Regions from separate parts of the Homo sapiens genome. Here region 1 is linked to region 2. Evidence: promoter capture Hi-C in human tissues and cell types (Jung and others, 2019). All regions are on one chromosome and are shown on one strand. Each heading gives the region's core, a stretch centred on a gene start or on the middle of the fragment in contact. The rest is flanking DNA. Distances are from core to core; before and after follow the strand shown.

The links. The method cuts DNA at HindIII sites, captures the fragments that hold promoters and counts their contacts. A contact is called where the count stands out against the background at its distance.
Region 1: a fragment that was not itself captured here is called in contact with the fragment with the promoter of SYNDIG1 in region 2 in 2 of the 25 tissues and cell types used here (dorsolateral prefrontal cortex and mesendoderm cells).

Annotation. Positions count from the first base shown.
Region 1 is chr20:24,331,660-24,338,358 of GRCh38, forward strand. The region is part of intron 1 of LOC105372577 (a long non-coding RNA gene); the gene reads right to left. Among named protein-coding and RNA genes, the nearest start is that of SYNDIG1, 130 kb to the right of the region's middle. The HindIII fragment of the contact is 8,287 bases long and covers 1-6,699 here.
Region 2 is chr20:24,465,307-24,472,909 of GRCh38, forward strand. It overlaps SYNDIG1 (synapse differentiation inducing 1), which reads left to right and starts at 4,323. Exons shown (of 4, transcript NM_024893.3): 1 at 4,323-4,447. The HindIII fragment of the contact is 8,441 bases long and covers 1-7,603 here.

The sequences.
Region 1 (6,699 bases), core at 2,506-5,005, 130 kb before region 2:
TCCTACTGTGGGTGAGTAGTTCCTAAATGACAAATGCAGTATAACACTTCCTTTGCTGAAGAGTACACATTTGCAGATTAGCGCATTACCGGCTCAAACATAATCTCTCACCAGTTGAGAAACTGGGCCTTGGTAAATACTCTAATTCCTATGTTCAAAAATTCATGTGGTTTGCTGCCAAGGCATCATATTAAATTAGAATGACATCCATCAAATTTTATGAAACTCAAATTTAGAAGAGTACACACTTAAGACTAATGCTTAGGATAAATTTTTTTAAATGAAAATCTCATCTCAGATCCCAGTTGGGACTTAGATGATGCTTTTTAGACTCTCAGCTTATCTTTCAAAAAATCAAGCAATGTTTTGCATAGCAGACATCATTTGCCCCTCACAAGGCAGCCCCTTGGCCCTATCAATGTCAGTGCAACTGTGCAAGGTAGCTCCATGCACGTCGCCAGCTCCCACCACAAGGGCACACAGCGGGGTAGCTGCGTCTACCTCAAGGCTCTCTCCAAAGGTGCAGCCTGGGAATGTGGGAGGGGAATGGTGATGGGATAGTGCTGGTGTGTGTCCCAGGCACAATTACTGCCAATGAGAACCAGCAGCCAGTGCATAAATGTCCCATTTTTAAAGGGATAGCTTTTAGGTGAATTCTACAGGGCTTCTCAGAGGATCATTAGTTAGACAAAGATGCCATTGCCCACAGCAATAACCAGCTCAATTATGTTCCTTCTATTGATTTCCTGTCTGTTCCTGTCTCCTTCCCCTCATTTATCCTTCTTGGGATCACCTCTCAAATAAAATACCTGCACCCAGAACGACGTGTTGGGCTCTGCTTTTGGCAGAGCCCAGGTAAAGGCACTGGCTTGCCTACAACCTATGAAAATGTGGAAACCCATGTGTTTGGTTTTCCATGTTGGGAAGTGGTGAATATGTGTTACTGTTGTGTTGGATAAGGCCAGAAGGTAGGTATTCTTAGGATAACAGCACTCATTTGATGGGGAATTGATTTCAATAGGTATCTTTCCATTCTCAATCCTCATAAATTTACTGGTCACTTACTACATAGAAAATTTCATGACATGCACTGTGAAAGCTAGAGAGGAGAATAAATTGAATTAATCTCTTGTAGTTATCATAATTTAGGAGGTATAAGCATATGGAAATGTGACCAGCATGGTGGCATGGTATTTAAGACCCAAGTGTCAAGCACAAAAAGGCAGCTCATTCAGAGTTCAGAGATTGAAAGTATTAGTAGAAACTAGAGTAGTGACGAAACACATCACAAGATACATAAACCTTGAAATTGGCTCTGAAAAATAACTATGTTCCTGACCAGTACTAAGAGACACTAATATCATAATTCTGAAAAATAGTTCCCCACCTTTACCCAACATAAATGGCTTGGCAATTCTATCTAGCAGTCATTGCCCCAGGGTGTATAATGGGATAGATCACTCACCACTAACATGTAGGAACCAGGAGTAACCCTACAAATGGTGAAGTATGAGGCAGAGAATGAGGATGTGGCAGACCTACAGCTGGAAGAGCAGTCATTCTTTGATGTGTTATATTAGAGCACACTTTTCTTTATCACTACCTTTTGAAGACCTGTGGTCTTCATATACTAAAAAGAAAGAACATGTCCTTGGGCTATGCTTGTGGTAACAGGACAGATAGGTATGTGAACACATTCTGTGAAGATTTACAAGACAGGCATGCTTGAAGCACTAAGGGGAAACAGTGGGATTCACTTACGAAGAGCAGCAATGAATGCACAGGTGTCTATTTACCCCAGACTTAAAAATGAAGCAGTCTCATTCTTAGGACAGCATGAGTTCATTTAGTTTGGAAATGAAAAGAAGACAAGACATTCAGGGAAAGGATTACATTCACAGCAGGTTTTAAAAGATGACTAGTAGTTCAATGGACAGTCAAGATGATGCTGGGCGATCTGGGAAGGTATACTGCCTGGGCTGTTGGGTTATTTTTACAAATAACATGTCCCTACTCTCAGGGACCCTTGGACTCTGATTTATCATCCTACCCTTCTGTTTCAGTTCTTTCTATTCAAAGGGACTGAAAATCCCAGAATTCAAATTATGACCCCCCAAAAAAGTGTTATTACAAATGTATGAAATAATCTCACTGAAAGGTATAGAGGTGCAAGGTATTGACCTAAGTAATTTTAGAGAAGAATAGAATGTAGAAGGCAAAGGAACTGCCCATCAGCACTGTGTTCTAGTTAATAAAATTGTCTCCAATGGGGCACATGGGTAAATGGTTCTGAAACCAGTGTACAGGTAAACTTCAATGGAACAAATGAGTAAACTGATGGCAGAAGGTGGAGCTAGGTTTCTCACTGCTGGAGTGGAATGTTGTAGAAAATCAACGGCTAGAACTCATGTGATGCTGGATTAGAGTTGGAGACATCAGCATAAATTTATATTTAGCTTAATATAAAGATAGAAAAATAGATGTTAGTAAACACACATATATTTCCTTGCTCTATCTGCTGAGAGGGTCTAGAAACAATGATACCCCAGCAGCAATAAATATATCTAACACCCAGGTTTTGGGTTTTGTGGTAGGCAGATTAATTTTTTTCCTCATCTTAATCTCAACTCTCCTCATCTTAATCTCAGAAACCTGTGAATATGATAGGTTACTGGCTAAGGGAAATTAAAGTTGCTGAAGAAATTAAATTTGCTAATTAGATGACCTTAAAATGAAGAAATTATTCTAGATTATCTGGCTGGGCCCAAATTAATGACAAGGGTCCTTGTAAGTAGCAGAGAGAGGCAGAAGATGAGTCCATTTCAGAGTGACGGTATGTGAGGAAGTCTCTATCAGCCACTGGGAGCTTTGAAGGTAAAAGGGGACCACAAGTCACAGAGTACAGGCAGCCTCTAGAAAATGAAGCAGACAAGAAAAATAGATTCTCTGTTATGACATGTACCCTTGACATGATGTAATCAGAATGACACTTCAGCCCTGTTGTTTTTCTTTCCAAAACTCATAACTCCATGACTTCTCTAATGATGAGAAAAACATATAAACCCCAATAGAAAGCATGCTAAAAAAAATAGTAGTTTCAACAGAAAGCAAGAAAACTGACATTGTCATCAAAAACAAGCAAATTATAAGAAACTGTTACAGCCAGGATTTGCCTAAATGTACATGATTACAAAATGCAATATAATATCCTGGATGGGATTCTGGAGCACACACACACACAAACACACACAAACACACACATACACACACATACACCACACACACACACAAATACACACATACACACACATACACATACACCACACACACATACACCACACACACGCACACACCACACACACAAAAATACACACATACACACACATACACATACAAACACACCACACATATACACAGACACACAAACACATACACACACACCACACGTACACAAACATACACACAAAGACACACACATACACAAACACAAACACACCTCACATACACACACACCACACACACACATATATGCACACACACATACACACATAGGTAAAAACTAAGGTAATCTCAATAAAGTAAGGACTTTAACTATAATTAAATTAAGTTAATTATAATTATAATTACAATAAGGACGTTAATAATAACTTATCAATACTATTTCATTAATTGCAATAAATATATTATACTAATGTAAGTTGTTAATAATTGAGGAAACGGGGTGAGGGGTAAATGGGAACTCTGTACTATCTTTGAAACTTTCGCAAATCTGAAACTAGTCTAAAATAAAAAAATGTATTCTACTCTTTACTTGTAAGAGATCAACTTTTTTAGATTTCACATATGAGTGAGATGAGGCAGTATTTGTCTTTCTGTGCTGGGCTTATTTCACTTAACGTAATGTCTTCTAGGCTCATCCGTATCATCACGCATGATTGGATTTCACCCTTTTGAATGTCTGAATAGTATTCCATTGTGTATCTATACCACTTCTAAAATCCATCCATCTGTTGATGGACACTTACATTGAGTCTATATCTTGGCTATTATGAATAGCACTGCAATAAACATGGGGTACGATATCTCTTACACACTACTTTTATTTTTATATACATTCCAAGTAGTAGGATTGTTGGGTCATATGGTAGTTCCATTTTTAATCTTTTCAGGAACCTCCACACTGTTGTCCAGATGGCTGTACTAATTTACATTCCCACTAACAGTATATGAGCTCCCATTTCTCCACATTCTCACCAGCATTTGTTAATTTGTGTCTTTTTAATAATAGCATTCTAACTCTGGCGAGGTGAAAACTCATTGTGTTTTTTAAATGTATGCATAATAGATGTACATATTTTTGGTGTACATTTGATATTTTGGTACAATCCTATAAAGTGTAAAGATCAAATCAGGGTAACTGGGATATCCATCGCCTTACACATTTATCTTTTCTTTATGCCAGAAACATTCAAATTCTTCTCTTCTAGCTATTTTGAATTGTACAATGGATCATTGTTAACTATAGTCGCCTACTGATCTCTTGAACACTAGGTCTTATTTCTTCTACCTAACCTAATCTTTGTACCCATTAATGATCTTGAGCATTTTGTCATACACCTGTTGGCCATTTGTATGTCTTCTTTCGAGAAATGTCCATTGAGGTGTTTAAAATCAGATTATTTTAAAATCCGTTTAATATCAGAATTTTTTTTGCTGTTGTTTGAGTTCCTTATATATTCCAGATATTAACTCCAGATATTGTCAGGTGTGTAATGTCAGTTTGCAAATATTTTCTCCCCTTTGTTGTTTGCTTCCCTAGAGGCTGGGGAGAGTGATGGGGAGGGGGGGGACGCAGTGAGGCTGCTCCATGGTTACCAAGTTACAGTTAGATGAGGAGAATTCGATCTTGTATTCCATTGCACACTAGGGTGACTAGAGTTAAAAATAATGTATTGTATATTTCAAAACAGCTAGAAGAGAGAATTTTGAATGCTCTCACTACAAAAAGTGATGAGTGTTTGAGATGATAGATACACTCATTACCCTGATTTGATCATTACACAATGTATACATGTGTCAAAACATAACGCTTCACCCCATAAATATGTACAATTATTACGTGTCAATTAAAAACAAAATAAAACTTTAAGAAGTGTACTAATTCAAACGGGAGCTGAGATAGCAGGGCTACACAGAGCAGGGGCTAATGGAACTTTACAGAGATAAGGTGCCAAATCTTGCAAGGAGGAAAAAACCCAAATGTGAGAAGATTTTTGTAAGGTTAACTTAAAAGATCAGTAAATTATCATTTAAGTGAAAGCTCTGAGTAGCAGTCATGTAGCTGGTTTCTTTTTTCCCTCTAAAGCAGTTTAGAAAATGTGCTTCCAAGGGCACTCATGGGAGGGTTCTGAGTTCATTCTGTGGCCTGTTGTAAATAGTTTTAGTGCCAAGCCCCTGGTTTCAAAGGGGTGATGAGATTGTTTCTGACCAGCATTTATTCTCTTAGTTGAAAGGAAGTGGTCCCTTCTGTTCAGTTTGTGTCTTGCAGGGAAAAGGAAGGTACGTGAGAAGGATGAAATGTTTTCAGCACGCCTCCCGGGCAGCCCTGTGACCCGGCAGGTTCCAGGAGACTTGAGTCAGCTTCAGCAGGAACTGAGGCTAAAGGATGTGGTTGAATAGGATGGCCACAGGCTAGGGCTGCAGGAAGCCTCATTTCCCTGAGCTGGATAGTCTTGAGACAGTTGGATGTCACAAAACACAGAAGAGGACTAATAGGAAAAAATAGCACCTGAAGAGAAAGTTTTAATGCACAGGGGGATGCATTTAAAAAATAAAGCTACTGTTTCTGCTGGTGAACACTGAAAGAAAGTGCAAAAATAGAGTCTTACTATTTCTACACCGGTGAAGCAAAACCCCACTCCTCTCCCAGCAATGAAGAACTCTGTCCCACAATGACACTGACTCTTTTCTTCCATTCCAAGATCATGTAGTGCAGACCAGTAGCACAAAAATCTTTCATGGATGGAACCAAAATGCTGGGTGATAGACTCCTGCCCACTGAGGACAGCTTGGCCCGGCAGCCCCGCCGCCCCTCCATGGCCCTGGCAGCCCCTCAGTGAGGTCAGAGGGGAGCAGGAGTGTGAAGACAGACAGCCAATTCAGGCCCTGGCTGGTGCTTCACTCAGGCAAGGCCCCTGCCCACACTACTGACGGTCTCTCAGATGCAGATCCCTAGTCAGATAAACAACATTGATGATGTCCTTGAAGACCTTCATGAGGGTGAATTATCAGATGCTTTAGTATGAATCTTGGCCCAGAGAAGCTGCTCAAAAATGCTTCTTCACACCTCCCTGCTCCACTGTATCTGTTAGTTGAGCATTTGAGGGCTTGATCATGTGTAAATTTCGTGATGTTTTCTCAGTATATTGTCCCAAATGATACAACTTTCCCCATTTTATCTCTTTGGATTTCATTCTCCTGCTGTTTTAGAGAGTGCTATGGATAGTTGATGCCACAGAGGTATTTTTGCTAATTTATAATTGTCAACTGAGACCTAAAAGCTGGCTTTATTAACAAACAAAATCCCCAAAATATCGCAAACCTACACACCCAGAAGCATCACGAGAAGTCACATAATGAAACACTTTCCCAGTTTATGAAATTAGAGGAAGTGCTCTCAGAAAAAAACGCATTCTATTA
Region 2 (7,603 bases), core at 3,073-5,572:
GCCCGCCCTTGCCTCCTACAATGCCAGGCAGCACATAGAATAAGCTCATTTCAGAAGTGAGGAAATCCAGGCTCAGTTAATCAGGATAGAGTGTGAGAGACAGCAGCAGACACTTGCCTCCAACCCAGGCTTGGCTGGCTCTGAGGTGTGAGATTCTACCCTAGCAGGGAAGCATTCAGCTGATGCCTGACAGACACCCCCTATTAATGTTGGCTACTTTGGATCCCACCCCACTTCTCACAAGTAATGTGAAGACAGGAGAGCCACTCAGTTCTCAAAATTCAGCTTCTTCATCTTCCTGCGATCATTCTGGCTGGCCCCACGGACCTTAAGATTCAATGAGGTTATATTTATAAAGAACTTATCTCATTTCTAGACATGGTCAATTGAAAAAAAAGGCCACAGATTCCTCCTGTCACTCACTGCAAGCCCATTTCCAATGTGACTTTATAGCCAAAGAGTACAGGATATCTCCCCAACTCCTGAATCTGGCCTGGGCCATTTGACCTGCTTTGGTCAATGAGATGATGTGACGTCACCCTGAAGAGCCATGCACATTGAGGTTTGCCTTCCCTTATTGCTGTCGGGCACCCTGAAGCCACCACTGGGTGAAGAACTCTGAGCCAGCCTACAGGAAAAGGACAGACATGGCCCACAGCCAGTCTACTCCCAGAAATGTAAGGTCTTTGGCTGCCAGCTGACCGCAGATGCCTGAGTGAGCCCAGACAGCAGTGTGAGGCAGAGGCAATCCATCCCAGATGGCTCAGCCCAAATCATCAACCCACAGCATTGTGAGCAAATCAGTGATTATCATTTTAAGCCACTGAGTTTCAGAGTAGTTTGTTCAGCAGCAATAGATAACTGATACAACCAGCACTATAGAAGTTGCTTAAAACATATTATCTTTCTCTCTTCCTTATTTCTTTTCAAAGAGCTGTAATGAATGCACGGGCAAGACTGCTGATGTTGGAACTGAGCAGACCCGGACATGCCCTTGACCCCTCTACTCAGCCTCGCTGTAACCATTTCCTCACCTGTGGAATCAGAGGGCTGGACTAGATGACTGCCAAGGTCCCAACCGACTCTAGCCTTCTGACCTTCTCTTGCATCTTTTCTCTTGTTTAAACTTTCATGTCAACATTGTCTCAGACATTTTTCTAGGTTTTGTATCACTTTCCATTCACTTTTGATAGAAATTCATGCTTTCTTTCCAGCCCCTCCTATCATGTCTAGATTGAGCATCTGAATGGATGTCTTTCTACACTTCTAAGTCAACAAGATTCAACTTTAGCAAGACACTGCCGCTTTTCAGTTCCTATATGTCATCCACTTAAGTCCCTTTAATAACAGATTTTGGGGGGGAAAGAAAAACCAGGTTAATTGCATAGCTTTAAAATTGCGTATGTGATTTGTTACCTTTGGTATTGCAAGCAATGTTTGAGGCCGAGCATTTTACATGGGTAACCTGGAGATGCTTTCTAGAAGGGCACTGTTGACCCCCAGACAGTGCATAGCAGGGCTGTTTGTAACCCCACAGTCAAAAGCTTTTGAGTTCAAGACATAAAGAGGAATATTTCCCATTTGAAAAAGTACTGAATCTGTGTTTCCCCTCATCAAATCACCTACCTCTAGGCATGTAAAGTTGGCTGGAGCCGGGCTTGGTAGCTCACACCTGTAATCCCAGCACTTTGGGAGGCTGAGGCAAGAGGATCACTTGAGCAGTTTGAAACCAGCCTGGGTAACATGACAAAATCCATGTCTCCACAAATACAAAAATTTGCCAGGCTTGGTGGTGTGTCTGTAGTCCCAACTACTCAGGAGGCTGAGGTGAAAGGATCACTTGAGTCCAGGAAGTTGAGGCTGCAGTGAACCATGATTGTGCCAGTGCACTGCAGCCTGGGCCACAGGACAACACTCTGTCTCAAAAAACACATTTACCTATGTAACAAAACTGCACATCCTGCACACGTACCCCTGAACTTAAAACAAAAGTTGAAAGTTAAAAAAAAATGTTGGCTGGAAGGTGTGGCAGCTTGCTCGGTGCCTGAGTGACAGTTCTTCCCAGCACAGGAGGTGGCCCACAGACCTCTCTTAGCTCTGAAAGTTCTGTAACATCCTCTGAGAGATAAGCATTGTTGAGAAGGTTACCCCAGTTTCCAAGAGACTTGGCAATTTCTACTGTGCCCCATTGCCTAATATGTGACAGCTCCTCACTGACTTTCTTGAAAGTCTTTATTTCAATGCTATATCACAGCATACCAGATAATATTTCAAGCCACAACAAGGGAATCACAGGTAAGAGAAACTGCCCATCGTGTGCTGGGCAACTGAGCTTCCCACCAGGAGCCCTTAATGAGCTGCTGCATCTGCCAGGAGTGGGTGACATCTGTTTCTTTACATACACGTCCTGGCCCTGTGAGTTTCTTTTGAAATGAAGTGTAAGGCCCCTTTGAATTACAGAAAGATGTGTGTGTGTGTGTGTGTGTGTGTGTGTGTGTGTCATGGGGGAAGAGTCCACCTTCTGTTTCTTTCTTTTTTTTTTTTTTTTTTGAGACGGAGTCTCACTCTGTCGCCCAGGCTGGAATGCAGTGGCGCGATTAAATTCAAACAGCACCCAGGAGACAAAGGCGAGTCCTGGCTGCAGCCCAGGCAGGTGTTCTCTCGTCAAAACAAAATCTGCCTCAAAAGTCAATCCAGAGGCTGGGCAAGTGAAAGAGCAGTGACTTAGAGGCAGGGAACCCGAGCTTCAGGCTACTCCTGCACATTGGGTGGCTACACAATCTCAATTACCCTTTTTAAACTTCAATTTCTTCATTTGATAAATGGGATCAATGACTCTCCACCTCAAATGGGTCTAATAGTATCTGCTCAACCTAATGGCTTAGATGGGAAACTGCTTTATTCAGGAAAGGACTCCGGAAAGGTAAGCTGCTTTATTAAAGTGTGGTGGCATGTTCTTCCAAGTTGAGAAGTTCTGCTAGATGGGAGAAATGAACAGTGCCCGTTTCTGAGTGTTCCAGACCACAGCCTTGCAGCTCTGGGGACCTAAAGGAAGAAACATCAGGTGTGTCTCGCGGGGCTGCAGACATGAAGACGGGGATGGAATTCAGGTGATAGTACTGGTTCCACTCATCCGCGCCTCCTTCAAATGCCTCCTTCTGGCACTCTGCATTTCAGCATTCTCTTTGGGCTGCGGAGGCTCCCTAGAAGCCACGTCCCCTGAAAGGAATATAGGAAGGACCTCTTGTTCCTGGCACCACCTTTAACTCCTGCCCCTGCCCACCAGGACACCTGGGCAAGACGCAGCGCAATGGTGGGTTACCAGGCAGGAGGGAGGGCTCTAGGAAGGTTGGGAGCCATGGAACTCTGGAGCTTAACCTTCTCTGACCACCAGTGTACCAGCCTGCGGGTGGCAGGACTGGGGCCTCTGCCTAGTGTTGAAACGGGGGCGCACAGATGCTTTTCTAAATAACTTTTGACCCCCTTTCTGGTAAATCTTTTTTTCAGAGTTGATTCTCTATGAAATCTACACTGCAAACACCACCTCCTCCGCTCCTAGAACGCAGACTGTCTTACCACCGCCCTAGTTTCCTTCCAATTCCAACTGGGGCGGGCCCGCCATGGGCCAACAACAGGCTGGCTCAGGGCTGAGGGGGTCTCTGGAGTCTGAACTCCGCGCCCGCTTGCTCCTCCAGGGCTTAGCTGGTCAGGACTTGAACATTCGCCGGATCCATAAATTGGGTCATTTTTAACCTCAAAACCGAACCGCAGCCTGGGGAGGCCTTTAGGACCGAGGGGAGCCATCCCTTCCTCTAGTCGGGCAGCAAATTCCTGTCCTCCTAGTCCCCCGCAGCTATCCCCCGCCCCCAGCCTCTGTGGCCCTCACATTGTCAGACACTGGCCGCGGGCCACCATCTGGACGCGATCCCCCGCTAGGGCCTCCCTGGTCTGGGCCAAAGTTGGTGGCCACCTTCGCGCGGGCTGCGCCCTCCTTCTCTTCCCTGCCCTCCTCCCCCGGGGCCCGCGCCCGCTGCCTCCAGCACGCGCGTCGGCAGGCTCGGCAAGCGAAGAGGAGCGGCTCGCCCCAGGGCGCCCCTCGCCCAGCCTGCCGGCCAGGCGAGCGCGACGAGAGTCTCCCCGCACCCCTTCCTCTCCCGGGGGCCGAGAGGGTTGGGCTCCGCCCCGGCGCCGCAGCTCCCGACTCCCCGCCGCTCGGGCTGCCGCCGCTGCCCCGCGCCCGGCGCTCGGGGCAGCCGGGGGCGCAGGCGGAGAGCGCAGGGCGGGGAGAGGCGTGGGGAGCAGAGCGGCGCTGAGGGGAGGGCAGAGGAGGAGAGAGCCTGGCAGCGGAGGAGCAGAGGCGGGCGCCGCACCGCCCCGCACGCTCGCTCGCTCGGGAGAGTCGCGGGCGGCCGCTTGGGCGCACTTGCCGGGTCACCTTGTCCCGGAGGTAAGTCCAGACCTCCCGGCCGCGGGGGCGGGCGGAGGGGCCCGCAGTGGGCGGGGTCGCGGCAGGGGCCGCGAGCTGGCGGCGGGAGCTGGAGGCTGCCCTGCGCTGGCGGGTGTCCTAGTCCTGGCTCCGCCTCGGAGCGCGCAGACCCGGCGGCGGCGTGGCGCCCGCGGTAAGTCCGGGTGGTCGCCGCGACGAGACTTGGGAGACACGGGGTCGCAGGGCGGGAGGGGGAGCTGAGCCGGCAGAGAAAATGCCCAGGAAGGGGTCGATGCTGGCCTGGGCTGCACCTTGGTGCCTTGCCACCCCGGGAGACGCGAAGGGGCTGCTGTGCGAATTCGATGGGAGCTGGTGAGACCGAGAACTGAGAGCGTAGCGGAGCCAGGCTGCCCAGCAGGGCCATGAGGGCGCGCGGCGGGCCAAGGCTCTGCGGGTTCGGGCTGCCCCTCGGAGTGACCCGAAGGAGACCAGCCAGGGCTGGTGAGCCGGGCGGCCACGGAGCTGGGGACCTAGGTCTGTTTGGGAGTAGGAAGGGAAACAGACTAATTCTCCGAGCGGAGCGGCAGGCAAGGTGCAAGCGCGCTTGGGATGGGGAATCCCGACGGGCGACCGTGGCGGAAGCAGAGACTCCTGGAGCCTCTTTCCTCTAGCCAGGACAAGACCTGCCTTCAAAAGCTGTCTGGCCCCTGGCAGCCGCGACAGCCTGCAGCCCTGGGAGCCACAGCCCTGGCGCCGAGATGGGAGCGAGCACATACGCTTTTTTGGTTCCAATTTGAATCTCGCTTTTTCCTAGTCGTGATTTCTGCCTCTTCATGTGCACTCTCTGGGCAGTGAGGAGGAAGGAATGGCTCACTGGATGAGTTGGGCACTTTTCTTAGGGAAGGGGCTTTGTCCCTATGCGCTTTTTGCAAGACCCTACTAGAGTGGCTCTGGCAGCCGAGCTTTGAGGAGGCGGCCAGAGGGGCCGCTTGGCGTTTCTGAAAGACGAGAGGAAGGGGTCTTCTGGTAGTCCTGTTTTCCTTTGGGGGTTTCGTTGCACGCAGAGGCTTGGGCGCTTGGCACCCAGACTTCAGGTGCGCACAGTCCTCCTGCGACGTCAGATGCGCTGGCGCCGCGGCGCTCCTGGCTCGGACCGATGCCTGCGCCTTCCCTGGCCACGTCCTGGTGTTTAGTGCAGCAGACACCGGCCGAAGGCTTGGCTGATTGGGGGTGTCGAGGGGAGGGGGGCTGGGCGTTACACAGTGGCTCCGTTTTCTGGTTGGAATCAGTTGGTGAGGCGTGCGCGCGCGAGTCCGTGTATCTGTCCGTCTCCCTCCTACAGCCCAGCGTGTTTGGTCTGAGTCCAAAGAAGGAGGTGGTGTGTGTGCTGCGTAGACCTGCGCCTGTGGGGTGAGCAGCCTCATAGCCCCCAGAGCCGGCCAACTTCTCCGTGCTAGGCTGCGACCTCAAGGGCTGCCGCGTCGGGGATCGGAAGTGGTCTTCAAAGAGGGGTCTAGGTCGCGAAATCCTGGCAGCAGCCGAAGTGAAAAGGAGCTGCTAGGAGGCGGGCGGGGGGCAGTCTGATGTCCGTTCTGGCGCGGACAGGAAGAAACTGAAGTCGAATTTTTAGTTGAATTGCGTGCTCTGTGTTTGGCGGTGGTGTGGCCCGTTCTTTTGGAGGTCCACACCACAGGTATGAGGCCTGTGGGCCCTGAGGAAGCGCGATCCCCTTAATTCCTCCCTCCCCTCTCTCTCCACCGCCCGCCCCTTTGCAAGGAGCAAGCCTGACAGTAGCTGATCGGCGCCCTCTCTCACCCTGTCCCCATTTCCTGCCTGAAAACGGAATCCTCATAATCAAGAGGGCCTTGTTAAAAAAAAAAAAAAAAAGGAAAGAAAAGATGGAGAAACCTATTTTTAAACTTTTTTATTATGGAAAATTTCAGTTGTACACAGTGACAGACAGAGAATAGCACTGAAGCTTTGTGTACCCCCCACCCAGTCACCACCTGCAGTTACCTTTGGTAGAGTTTTGGAGGCCACAGAGTTTTGGAAGCCTTGTTTGATGAAGTATTTCAAAACTCATTCCAAAATGCTAAGTATTGGATAGTAGGTTAATTAGCTCCATTCAGTCATGACACATTGTATACGCATATCACAGCATCATTTTGTACCCCATAAACATACACAATTATAATTTGTTAATATCTGATAAAATAAACCAATTCAGTAAAAATACAAAATCACTTTGATGTAAACTTCAAAAAAATAAAAAAACCATTCCAAACTCACTTCACCTCTAAACACATCCCTCTGTATCTCCAGCTGATGACATTTCATTTTATGTTCACCTATCAGAAATGTCAGTTTTTAATAACCCCATTAGAGTATAGGTGATATTAAAATAAAAATGAAGGCCCCCTCCATTCCCATTTTAGGGTAGAAAAGGAAAACCTGCCAACTTTACTTGAGGCGTACAGGGGTGAGATATTGAAGAAGGAAAGACAAGTCCGGATCCTGGGAAGACAGATATGTTAGCAATAGGAACAGACTCATTCTAATTCATGAAGGGCGTGAACACGATTCTGGTTGAGCCATGATAGGCAAGAGAATTTTTTTTGATAAAAACTTTAAAACTCAGTTCAAAAATTATAAGCAATTAATTTCTTCCACATTTAGCATTGAGATAAATTAAAAGTGCTCTACCAGACTTGAGTTATTTTTCTCATTAATTTTAAATCGTATTTTCTAGGGAGTTATTACTATTATCAGAGAATAGAAAGTTGTTTTCTTATGTAAGATTTCTATCTGAGGCACTAGTCGGTGCTATTCTGAGGTTCATGGAGAGTACTGAACATTTCATTGTCTAATTAGAAAATGTTTGGTCATCCTCCAGGTCACACCTGCTCTGCCCTCTGAAAAGGCTCTGTGCTTGCTGAGATGTGATATTCACTGTGACTTCTACTGTCTGGAGAGGCATGGCACGCAGGGAGGCACTGGAGGCAGTGGGAGGGGAGGCCCTCCCTCCACCAGCCCCCTCCCATTCTGCACACCTCTGTGCTTTCCTGTATATAAAAGCAGTTCCTAAAAATTGTCAGTGATGTTCTTAGAGGAGTCAGTCAGACTTTTGAATACCTTTATAAAGTGCACTATTTAAAGGTGTCCTTAGTTAACCTTTTG